Linked DNA regions of Homo sapiens: regions 1 and 2 are each linked to region 3. The links are contacts of gene promoters, found by promoter capture Hi-C in human tissues and cell types (Jung and others, 2019). All regions are on one chromosome and are shown on one strand. The core of a region is centred on a gene start or on the middle of the fragment in contact, and the rest is flanking DNA. Distances in the headings are between cores, read along the strand shown. Region 1 overlaps PRPF6 (pre-mRNA processing factor 6). Region 2 overlaps MYT1 (myelin transcription factor 1). Region 3 holds the start of NPBWR2 (neuropeptides B and W receptor 2).

Region 1 (3,362 bases), core at 225-2,724, 110 kb after region 3:
TAAATGTTTGGCAAAGAAACTGTCAGGAACAGGGGTCAGCTTCTCATAGCGTGGGTTCCGCTGACGTTTATTTCTGGCATCGCCAACCTCGGGGATGCTCAGCCACTCTTCTTCTGTGACTTCTGCCAACTTCCTCTGGAAATATCCAGCCCCCAAAAACATTAATTCTCTGACAGAATTTCATGTGCCCAGGTAGGACCATGCCCTCTCTCACCCCTAGCCTCCAGATCACCAAGCTTTAGAAGGGATTTGGATGCAGCAACTGTTTTTTACTTTTGTTTTGAGATGGGTCTCATTCTGTTGCCCAGGCTGGATTCAGTGGCACAATCACAGCTCACTGCAGCCTCAACCTCCCAGGCTCAAGTGATCCTCCCACTTCAGCTTCTCAAGTTGCTGGGACCACAAGCGTGGGCCACCATGCCTGGCTAAGTTTTTATTTTTTGTAAAGACAGGTTCTCCCCAAGGCTGGTCTCAAACTCCTGGGCTCAAGTGATCCTCCCACCTCAGCCTCCCAAAGTGCTGAGATTACAGATGTGAGCCACTGTACCCAGCCCCAAAAATAGTTTTCTACTTCACTTAGAAAAATCAATTTAGGCCGGGCACGGTGGCTCATGCCTGTTAATCCCAGCACTTTGGGAGGCCAAAGCGGGCAGATCACCTGAGGTCGGGAGTTCGAGACCAGCCTGACCAACATGGAGAAACCCCATCTCTACTAAAAATACAAAATTAGCCGGGCATGGTGGCACATGCCTGTAATCCCAGCTACTAGGGAGGCTGAGGCAGGAGAATCGTTTGAACCTGGGAGGCGGAGGTTGCGGTGAGCTGAGATCGCGTCATTGCACTCCAGCCTGGGCAACAAGAGCCAAACTCCGTCTCAAAAAAAAAAAAAAAAGAAAAAGAAAAGAAAAATCAATTTATTGGATCTGTTCAACTTCACTAAAATGTAAATTATTCTCTCAAAGCCCAGGGGACACAGTTTAGAAAATCTTACGTATAAATGGGGCCAGACGTGGTGGCTCACGCCTGTAATCCCAGCCCTTTGGGAGGCTGAGGTGGGCAGATCACTAGAGTTCAGGAGTTTGAGACCAGCCTGGTACACATGGCGAAATCCTGTCTTTACTAAAAATACAAAAATTAGCTGGGTATGGTGGCAGGCACCTGTAATCCCAGCTACTTAGGAGGCTGAGGCACAAGAATTGCTTGAACCTAGGAGGTGAAGGTTGCAGTGAGCTGAGACCACGCCACTGCACTCCAGCCAGGGCAACAGAGCCAGACTGCCTCCAAAAAAAAAAAGAAAAAAGAAAAAAGAAAATCTTAGGTATAAATGGAGTCAAAATTACAAAGAAAATAAGTTCATTTGTCCTACCTTTTACAGTAGGGGAAGGGTTTTTTTTTACACACATATAATTAAACATACTGAAGCAAACACTTTCTTCTTCTAAGCAATGACCCCCTAAATTAAAAACGTAAAGTCTCATAAATTCCACGTAAGAGCAGTCTGAGTCTCTGCGGGTTAGGGTGAGAGCGTTAGAAACCGCACACCATTCACCGCTTCATCGGCTCACCTTGAGGTCTGAGAACTGCTGTTGGATTTTGGGGCGTTCCATACGATATTTCTCTATTTCTTCTTTCTCCCTTTGCTCCCTAGGAAATAAAACATGCACACATCAGAAACACTGCATGTCTGTTCTGAAGCAAATTTATTATCCATCTCAATTAAATCACCAAAAAGAACAATTCCATACTCTTAGTAGCTAAATCAAATATATATATATATATATACATATACACACACACACACACACACACACACACACACACACATTTTTTTTTTTGAGATGGAGTCTTGCTCTGTCACCCAGGCTAAAGTGCAGTGGCGCAATCTCAGCTCACTGCAACCTCCACCTCCTGGGTTTAAGTGATTTTCCTGCCTCAGCCTCCCAAGTAGCTGGGATTACAGGTGCTCGCCACCACTCCCAGCTAATTTTTGTGTTTTTAGTAGAGACGGGGTTTCACCATCCTGGCCAGGCTGTTCTCGAACTCCTGACCTTGTGATCTACCCACCTTGGCCTCCCAAAGTGCTGGGATTACAGGTGTGAGCCACCGCACCCAGCCCAAATCAAATATATTTTAAGGTAACTATGAATACATTCTTAGCTGGGCATGGTAGCACACACCTGTAATCACAGCTACTTGGGAGGCTGAGGCAGAATCATTTGAACCCAGGAGGCAGAGGGTGCAGTGAGCCAAGATCGCACCACTGCACTCCAGCCTGGGCAACACAGAGAGACTCTGCCTCTAAATAAATAAATATAAATACATTCGTAAGTCTACTAATTCAATTATCCACCAAATAAAAACATGTAGAAATTCATTAAAATAAAAAAAAAAGATCTTACTTTGATCTAAATACCTCCATTTGGACATGTGTATATTTACTGCTTGAAAATTCACAAAATCCCAAAGGTAGGACCATCCCATAAACACCTAAGAAGGCCAGGCGTGGTGGCTTACACCTGTAATCCCAACGCTTTGGGAGGCCGAGGTGGGCAGATCACCTGAGGTCAGGAGTTCAAGCCTGGCCAATGTGGTAAAACCCCATCTATACTAAAAATATGAAAATTAGCCAGGCGTGGTGGCGCATGCCTGTTATCCCAGCTACTCAGGAGGCTGAGGTAGGAGAATTGCTTGAACCTGGGAGGTGGAAGTTGCAGGGAGCCAAGATCATGCCATTGCACTCCAGCCTGGGTGACAAGAGTGAAACTTCGTCTCAAAAAAATAAAAATAAAAATAAAAATTAGCTGGGCATGGTGGTGGGCACCTGTAATCCCCAGCTACCTGGGAGACTGAGGCAGGAGAATCATCTGAATCCAGGAAGTGGAGGTTGCAGTGAGCCAATCTAGCCTGGGCGACAGAGCGAGACCTTGTCGCAAAACAAAACAAAACAAAACAAAACAAAAAAACACCTACAAGGAAAAACAGTAACTATCCTAGTTACCACCAAACACTCCAAACACTCTACTGAACTCATCCCACCTTTCCTTCCTTGCTTCCTTCTCTTCCAAGTAAATAGTTCACCTCTAACCAACTCAGCTCAGCTGCACAGCTCTATGTGCCAGAACATAACCCATGTAATTGCACTTCGGTGTTGAGACTACATGTGAGGATATGGTATTCACAGTACTGTTCTTCCTACTTGTTTGTATTACGACAGTTTTCAGAATAAAAAGTTTTAATAAGTACACTACTTTTTTTTTTTTCTTTGAGACAGTCTCACTCTGTCACCAGGCTGGAATGCAGTGGTGCGATCTCAGCTCACTGCAACCTCCGCCTCCTGGGTTTAAGTGATTCTCGTGCCTCAG
Region 2 (2,999 bases), core at 351-2,850, 110 kb before region 3:
CTCACACCCCAAAGTTCGATAGCCAGAAATGTGGGCTGGATAGAATCAAAAGGGCCTAACGGGAGGCCTCCTCCACCCTAGCCACAATCTCTCTAGCGTTCAGTGAGTATTCACCATGGGCTGAGGGCGGCAGAGTGTCACTTGAGCCTCATGAGCGACTTAGTTTGTTGTCCTACTTTTATAAGTGAACAAACTGAGGTCATAGTCCCAGGGAGTGCAGTCTCCAAAGTTGGAGCCTGTTTGACACCCCTGCCTGGCCTCACACGGGGGCCAAATCTGCGGTTTGACATTTTATCGGTGATTTAGATCAAAGAGGGAAAGGATTGAATTAGCAACTGACAGGAAGCTGGAGGGAACAGCAAATAAGATAGAGGAAAAAAGCAGCTTCAAACCATTGTGAGAGCCAGCTGGTGGAAAGCAGCCTGCTGGGACCTGCAGGGCTGAAGGTGCCTGTGTGTGGGATGGCAAGCATGCCCACAGAGCAGGAAGGCAAGTCTCTGTGCTCTGCCCAGAGATCCCACGTGTGGGAATTGCACCTTCAGAGGAACACTCTGGAGCAGACCAGGGAAGGGCCTGGGCATGACACAGCCAAGGTGAGCAGCGAAGATCATCTGGCTGGAACTTTGCCAATTATGTGCCAGGAAGGGCCGGGGTCAGGTGGGCCCCGAAAGGAGGCGGACAGTGGAAGGGGCTATGCAGTCATTCACGCTCACCCCAGCCGGGGTCTCCTACACTCTTGTCTGGTGAGACAGATATGGAACAGGGGTCTGAGAGCTGGGGAGGAGGAGCTGTGTGTGAGTTCTAGTTCCTCACGGGAGTGGGGAGCAGGGTGTCTGCAGGTGAAGACAGGAGCAGTGGAAGTGTCCTCTTCGACAGTGGGTACCGTGGTCCAAGGACTCAGCTCCATAGAGGAGAGACTTTGAAGCCAGGCAGGATGGGCAGGGTGGCCTTGGGCAACTCTCTGAGCCTCTGGCCTTATTTGTGGCACTTACTTCTTAGAGCCACATGGAAGGAGGGGACACTAATGGGACACATTCTGAAAGATCCTTATTGATTAGAGCCAAATTTACACATGCACACACACATGGACTTGCACGCACATGTAAACATACTCGCACATATGCGAACACAAACAGGCGTGTGAACATGCACACACACGCTCCCACGTGTTCACATACACATGGACTTGCACGCACATGTAAACATACCCGCACATATGCAAACACAAACAGGCGTGTGAACATGCACACACACGCTCCCACATGTTCACACACACCTACTGTGATCTCAGAACCTCAGGGGCCACAAAGCACTCTGGGGAGCAAAGCCTGCACCCACCCTCTTCCTTGACTTGGGGTCTATCCCTGGGGTCGGGGAGGGACAGGCAGGACGGCCAAGGATTAGTGGCTCATGGTGCTTCCTGGACGTCCGTGGTCCTTGGCTGGTGCAGTCTGCTCTTTCCAGACAGGACCAGCATCTCCACAAATGAATCCCCAAGGGGCCTCAAGTGGTCACATCAGACGACTCCAAGGAGGCAGAGCCCCATGTCGGAGGCAGAGGCAACTGTGCAGGAGTTTGCGCTTTGGCTGAGGCACTGGCGAATGTGGTAGACATGAGACTCTGTCCTGTGTGGCTCCAAAACTGCCCCGCAGTTCTGCTCCTGGGGGGCCCGGGGCATGTGCACACTCACATGCACGTACACTCACATGCACGTACACTCACACACATGCACTCACACACATGCACATACAGCCTGCGGGAGACTGAGAAGCCCTCTGCAGGCATTTGGGAGGCAGCCTCTTCAGTTCTGTGGCTCATCTCACTCACCTGAGGATCCGATCGGAATTGGAGCTACTCTTGGAAGGATCTCCTGTCTGCGGCTGCTGCTTCTCATGGGATTTGGCTAATTTTTCGGCGGCAGCAATGGGACACCCAGACAAACTAGAGGAAGGAAGAGGAGGGGTTTCTGAGCCTTCCCCTCCATGCCTGTCCTGTCCTGGGTGTCTGTGTGTGTGGGTGTCTCACGGCAAGGTCATTCAGATGTGAGAACTCCAGGTGAACTCCAGAGAAGCCCAGAGCCGGGAATAACCCTGTCATTCTGCAGGACAGGGGTTTTCTCTCTGGCTCTGTTCTTGAGCCCTCACAGTACAAGCTGCCCAGTCAGTTTCTGTTTTGGAACATTCTATGCCAAGGACACACAAAGATGAAATATATCCTAAAGGCCTTGAAAGCTCTGGGCAAAGATGCCTCCTCTGCATGGGTCTGGGAGACAGGCTTGCCCTCACCCCCTTCCTCTCCCTTCCCAGCTTGCAGGGCTGGATTCTGCAGCCCTCTCTGGCGCTTGTTCTGTTAGCTGCTCTGGGGCAGCCCAGGGCCCCACTTGGACCACAGCCTGGGCACTGACCCTGGATGACACAGGCCCAGGAAAGTACTCAGTCTAAGACACGGAGGCAGCAGCTTCATCTGTCAGAATAAAGTTAACTGTGAGCTCCAGCGCCAGTCCCTCAGCCAGCCCAGGGAGGTGACGTAATGGGGAACTGGCCTCTTTTCAAATGAAGTGACCTCAAAAGCTCTGGCAGTCCTTTCAGCTGAGCATAAGCCTGCTGGGGGAAAGCATATCCCACCGAGGCCACGGCCACCCATGGCACTTAGGGTAAGGCTGGAGGAGTAGTCCCCCCTCACCATAGAAGACCAGTCAACAACTACACCTCGAGGGTGGTCGGGAAGCTTCACTTCCACCTGGGCCTCAGAACTCCCACAAAGCAGCCCAGAGCACAGTCCTGGCCTGCCGAGGTTACTGTTCATGTCTGCCCTTCCCACTCAGGAGCAAGAGCCAGTGTGCAGAGGTTTTCTGAATGTGGGTAGGACACAAAGTATTCACCTGGCTCTCACATGGTTGTTGTACCTCTCTTCACAGAGGGTGCATTGCTCCCTCCTCTGCAGGCCGCCCCCTGCTCTCTCGGGAGCTCGTAGGGTTAAGGCAGCAACACCACTGGGTG
Region 3 (3,322 bases), core at 436-2,935:
CTCTCTGTGTCACGCCTCTGGTTTCCAGGAGCTGTGAACTGACCCCTCCCGACCCCACGAACACCCCAAATCACAAAATTCAGCCCCAATGCACCCTCTCCTCACGGCTGCTAATCACCATCCCCTGACCTTGTGGGCGTCAAGCTCCACTTATGTGACAAACTGTGGCTACAAGCCCCACGCTCCCTCGAGACACACCCACAGATCCCCCCCACCGCCATCCCCAAACTGGCTGAAGAGGAGTGTGAGATATCTCAGCAGGGTTCCCTGACCCCGGACTCAACATCCACATGGCACAGCCCATAGAAGGGTAGCTCGGGGCCCACCCACAGTGTACCCTCAGGCTGGCGACATCAGGGTACTCAGGGCGACTGCCCAGGCTCCTGTCCTAACCAATAGACTTGACAGAGCAACTCTCAGGAAAGAAGGCCGACCATGAGTGTGCGGTGACATCCTTGCAACCCCACAGGCAGCGGGCACAGTCTCGATGGGCAGACACATCTCCCCAGACTGAAAACACACAGTGACCAGGCACGGTGGGTCATGGCTATAACCTGAGCACTTTGGGAGGCTGAGGTAGAGGCTGAAGCTCAGGAGATCGAGACCAGCCTGGGCAACATGGTGAAACCCCGTCTCTACAAAAAAAAACACAAAAATTAGCCAGGCATGGTGGCACATGCCTGTAGTCCCAGCTACTTGAGAGGCTGAGGTGGGAGGATCACCTGAGCCCAGGGAGGTCAGGGCTGCAGTGAGCCATGATAGTGCCACTGCACCCCAGCCTGGGTGACAGGGCAAGACCCTGTCTCAAAAAAGAAGAAAGGAAAGAAAACACAGACCCTCTGACCCAACACGTCTCCGCTGAGGAGCGGCTCTGAGACTGGCGACTGCTCGTGTCAGCTGTGGCGTTGCCTGCAAAGCAGGTCCAGATGCGGCCGAGCTGCACACACACGGGTTGGATAAGCCAGGGTGCGTCCAGCAAGGAAGAAAAGCAGGGAGAAGGGAAGGACTTAAAGACCAACCCAGAGCAGAGTGTGATGCTCACCACCTCTGCAGGACGGCGGGAGAGTTACGTGTCAGCGTGAGAACGTCTTCTCTGCAGCCTTTCACAGCTTGCCTAGGCTGAGTTCCTCTTTTAGCAAAAGACAAAAAAAGAAGGTGGGTTGCCTATGGCCAACAAGTTCTGCTTCCACATGAGGGCATACAGACCCCCCAGATGCCCACACTCAGCCAAGGACATGTAGACCCACTCAGATACAACGCAGAGCTCACCCACAGAGACCCCCATACAGGCAGACACAGGCCCACACACGTACATGTCCTAACTGGCACACACACACAGGAACACACCATGTACACACACAGGGTGGGGCAGGAGACCCACCAAGACACCCATGTTCACAGATAAGGGTGCCCAGGCCCACAGTGACTCCCGGACAGAGGCACAGATGCCTTCAGTGCCCTCTGCCCGAAGACCTGGGCACACCCAGAGGCCCCTGCATGGAGTCCCTTCCTGACACACAGGCGCACACGTGCCTCAGCCGCCCACTGAGGAGTCTGCCTGGGTAAGTGAATGCTGAGGAGACCCTGGGACAGCCGACTGCAGGCGCTACTGCAGCTCAGGGGAAGGTGGGGCCTGCCTTCCGGGCTCCACGTCAGCAAGGGGGATCCGCCTCCCTCCCTCACCAGCATCAGCACTGACACCAGGCTGGGAACCTCGCAGCCGGGGCTGAGGCAGCCAGCAGGGCAGGTCTTGAAACTCCTGAAACCTCAGCTGGAGGTCTGTCAGTGAGGACCACACCTCGCCCTCCATCCCTGCGACTGCCTGTACTGGCCAAAACCAGGAACACACCAAGGCTACCAACTTCTGGACTCGAAGCACTGGACAGGTCAGTGGAGAGAAGAGTAGCTGGACCAGCAGGGTCTGCAGCATCTCTCGGGAGGGTGTGAGGGAGGGTGCAGACTCCAAGACCCCTGAGGGAAGGACCTTCAGATTCAAGGGAGCCAGAGATGAGCTTGGGAGGTGTGTTTCCAAAGGGACCGCTTGATTCTACGCAGCCCGTGCATCTGCGGGTTGCTGGGGCAGGGACGGATCCACATCTCTTCCCAGGAGGGTGGCCAGCAGCTGCTCTCTGCGGGAGGAGGGAACTGATCTGCTGAAGTCTCACCAGGAAGAGGCGGGAGGAGGCCCCCACACACCCCACCAGGCTCCCTCTGGCCCCATGTCCTTGACCTGGCAAAGTGGCCGCAGTCTCTGCCAGAGAACCTGGAGTGGCTGTGCCCTAACAGACGGCCGGATCTCAAAGTCTCTGGTTGTTTTTCTTTCCTAGAATCCAGCCCAAGGAGGCCCCCAACCAGATACCCAACTCCAAGGCACCTCCCACCTGCCCAGGGCGCAAATCGTCAACGGTCCCAGCTACAATGCAGGCCGCTGGGCACCCAGAGCCCCTTGACAGCAGGGGCTCCTTCTCCCTCCCCACGATGGGTGCCAACGTCTCTCAGGACAATGGCACTGGCCACAATGCCACCTTCTCCGAGCCACTGCCGTTCCTCTATGTGCTCCTGCCCGCCGTGTACTCCGGGATCTGTGCTGTGGGGCTGACTGGCAACACGGCCGTCATCCTTGTAATCCTAAGGGCGCCCAAGATGAAGACGGTGACCAACGTGTTCATCCTGAACCTGGCCGTCGCCGACGGGCTCTTCACGCTGGTACTGCCCGTCAACATCGCGGAGCACCTGCTGCAGTACTGGCCCTTCGGGGAGCTGCTCTGCAAGCTGGTGCTGGCCGTCGACCACTACAACATCTTCTCCAGCATCTACTTCCTAGCCGTGATGAGCGTGGACCGATACCTGGTGGTGCTGGCCACCGTGAGGTCCCGCCACATGCCCTGGCGCACCTACCGGGGGGCGAAGGTCGCCAGCCTGTGTGTCTGGCTGGGCGTCACGGTCCTGGTTCTGCCCTTCTTCTCTTTCGCTGGCGTCTACAGCAACGAGCTGCAGGTCCCAAGCTGTGGGCTGAGCTTCCCGTGGCCCGAGCAGGTCTGGTTCAAGGCCAGCCGTGTCTACACGTTGGTCCTGGGCTTCGTGCTGCCCGTGTGCACCATCTGTGTGCTCTACACAGACCTCCTGCGCAGGCTGCGGGCCGTGCGGCTCCGCTCTGGAGCCAAGGCTCTAGGCAAGGCCAGGCGGAAGGTGACCGTCCTGGTCCTCGTCGTGCTGGCCGTGTGCCTCCTCTGCTGGACGCCCTTCCACCTGGCCTCTGTCGTGGCCCTGACCACGGACCTGCCCCAGACCCCACTGGTCATCAGTATGTCCTACGTCATCA

What was found. The method cuts DNA at HindIII sites, captures the fragments that hold promoters and counts their contacts. A contact is called where the count stands out against the background at its distance.
Region 1: a fragment that was not itself captured here is called in contact with the fragment with the promoter of NPBWR2 in region 3 in 2 of the 25 tissues and cell types used here (dorsolateral prefrontal cortex and liver).
Region 2: a contact is called between a fragment that was not itself captured here and the fragment with the promoter of NPBWR2 in region 3, in 5 of the 25 tissues and cell types used here (H1 embryonic stem cells, lymphoblastoid cells, mesendoderm cells and 2 more).

Annotation. Positions count from the first base shown.
Region 1 is chr20:63,991,689-63,995,050 of GRCh38, reverse strand. It overlaps PRPF6 (pre-mRNA processing factor 6), which reads right to left. Exons shown (of 21, transcript NM_012469.4): 4 at 1,566-1,644; 5 at 1-135. Among named protein-coding and RNA genes, the nearest start is that of PRPF6, 12 kb to the right of the region's middle. The HindIII fragment of the contact is 7,819 bases long and covers 1-3,362 here.
Region 2 is chr20:64,212,476-64,215,474 of GRCh38, reverse strand. It overlaps MYT1 (myelin transcription factor 1), which reads right to left. Exons shown (of 23, transcript NM_004535.3): 10 at 1,828-1,941. Among named protein-coding and RNA genes, the nearest start is that of PCMTD2, 42 kb to the left of the region's middle. The HindIII fragment of the contact is 3,318 bases long and covers 1-2,999 here.
Region 3 is chr20:64,105,928-64,109,249 of GRCh38, reverse strand. It overlaps NPBWR2 (neuropeptides B and W receptor 2), which reads left to right and starts at 1,685. Exons shown (of 2, transcript NM_005286.4): 1 at 1,685-1,886; 2 at 2,328-3,322. The coding sequence starts at 2,419. RefSeq lists an enhancer at 1,637-2,137. The HindIII fragment of the contact is 24,186 bases long and covers 1-3,322 here.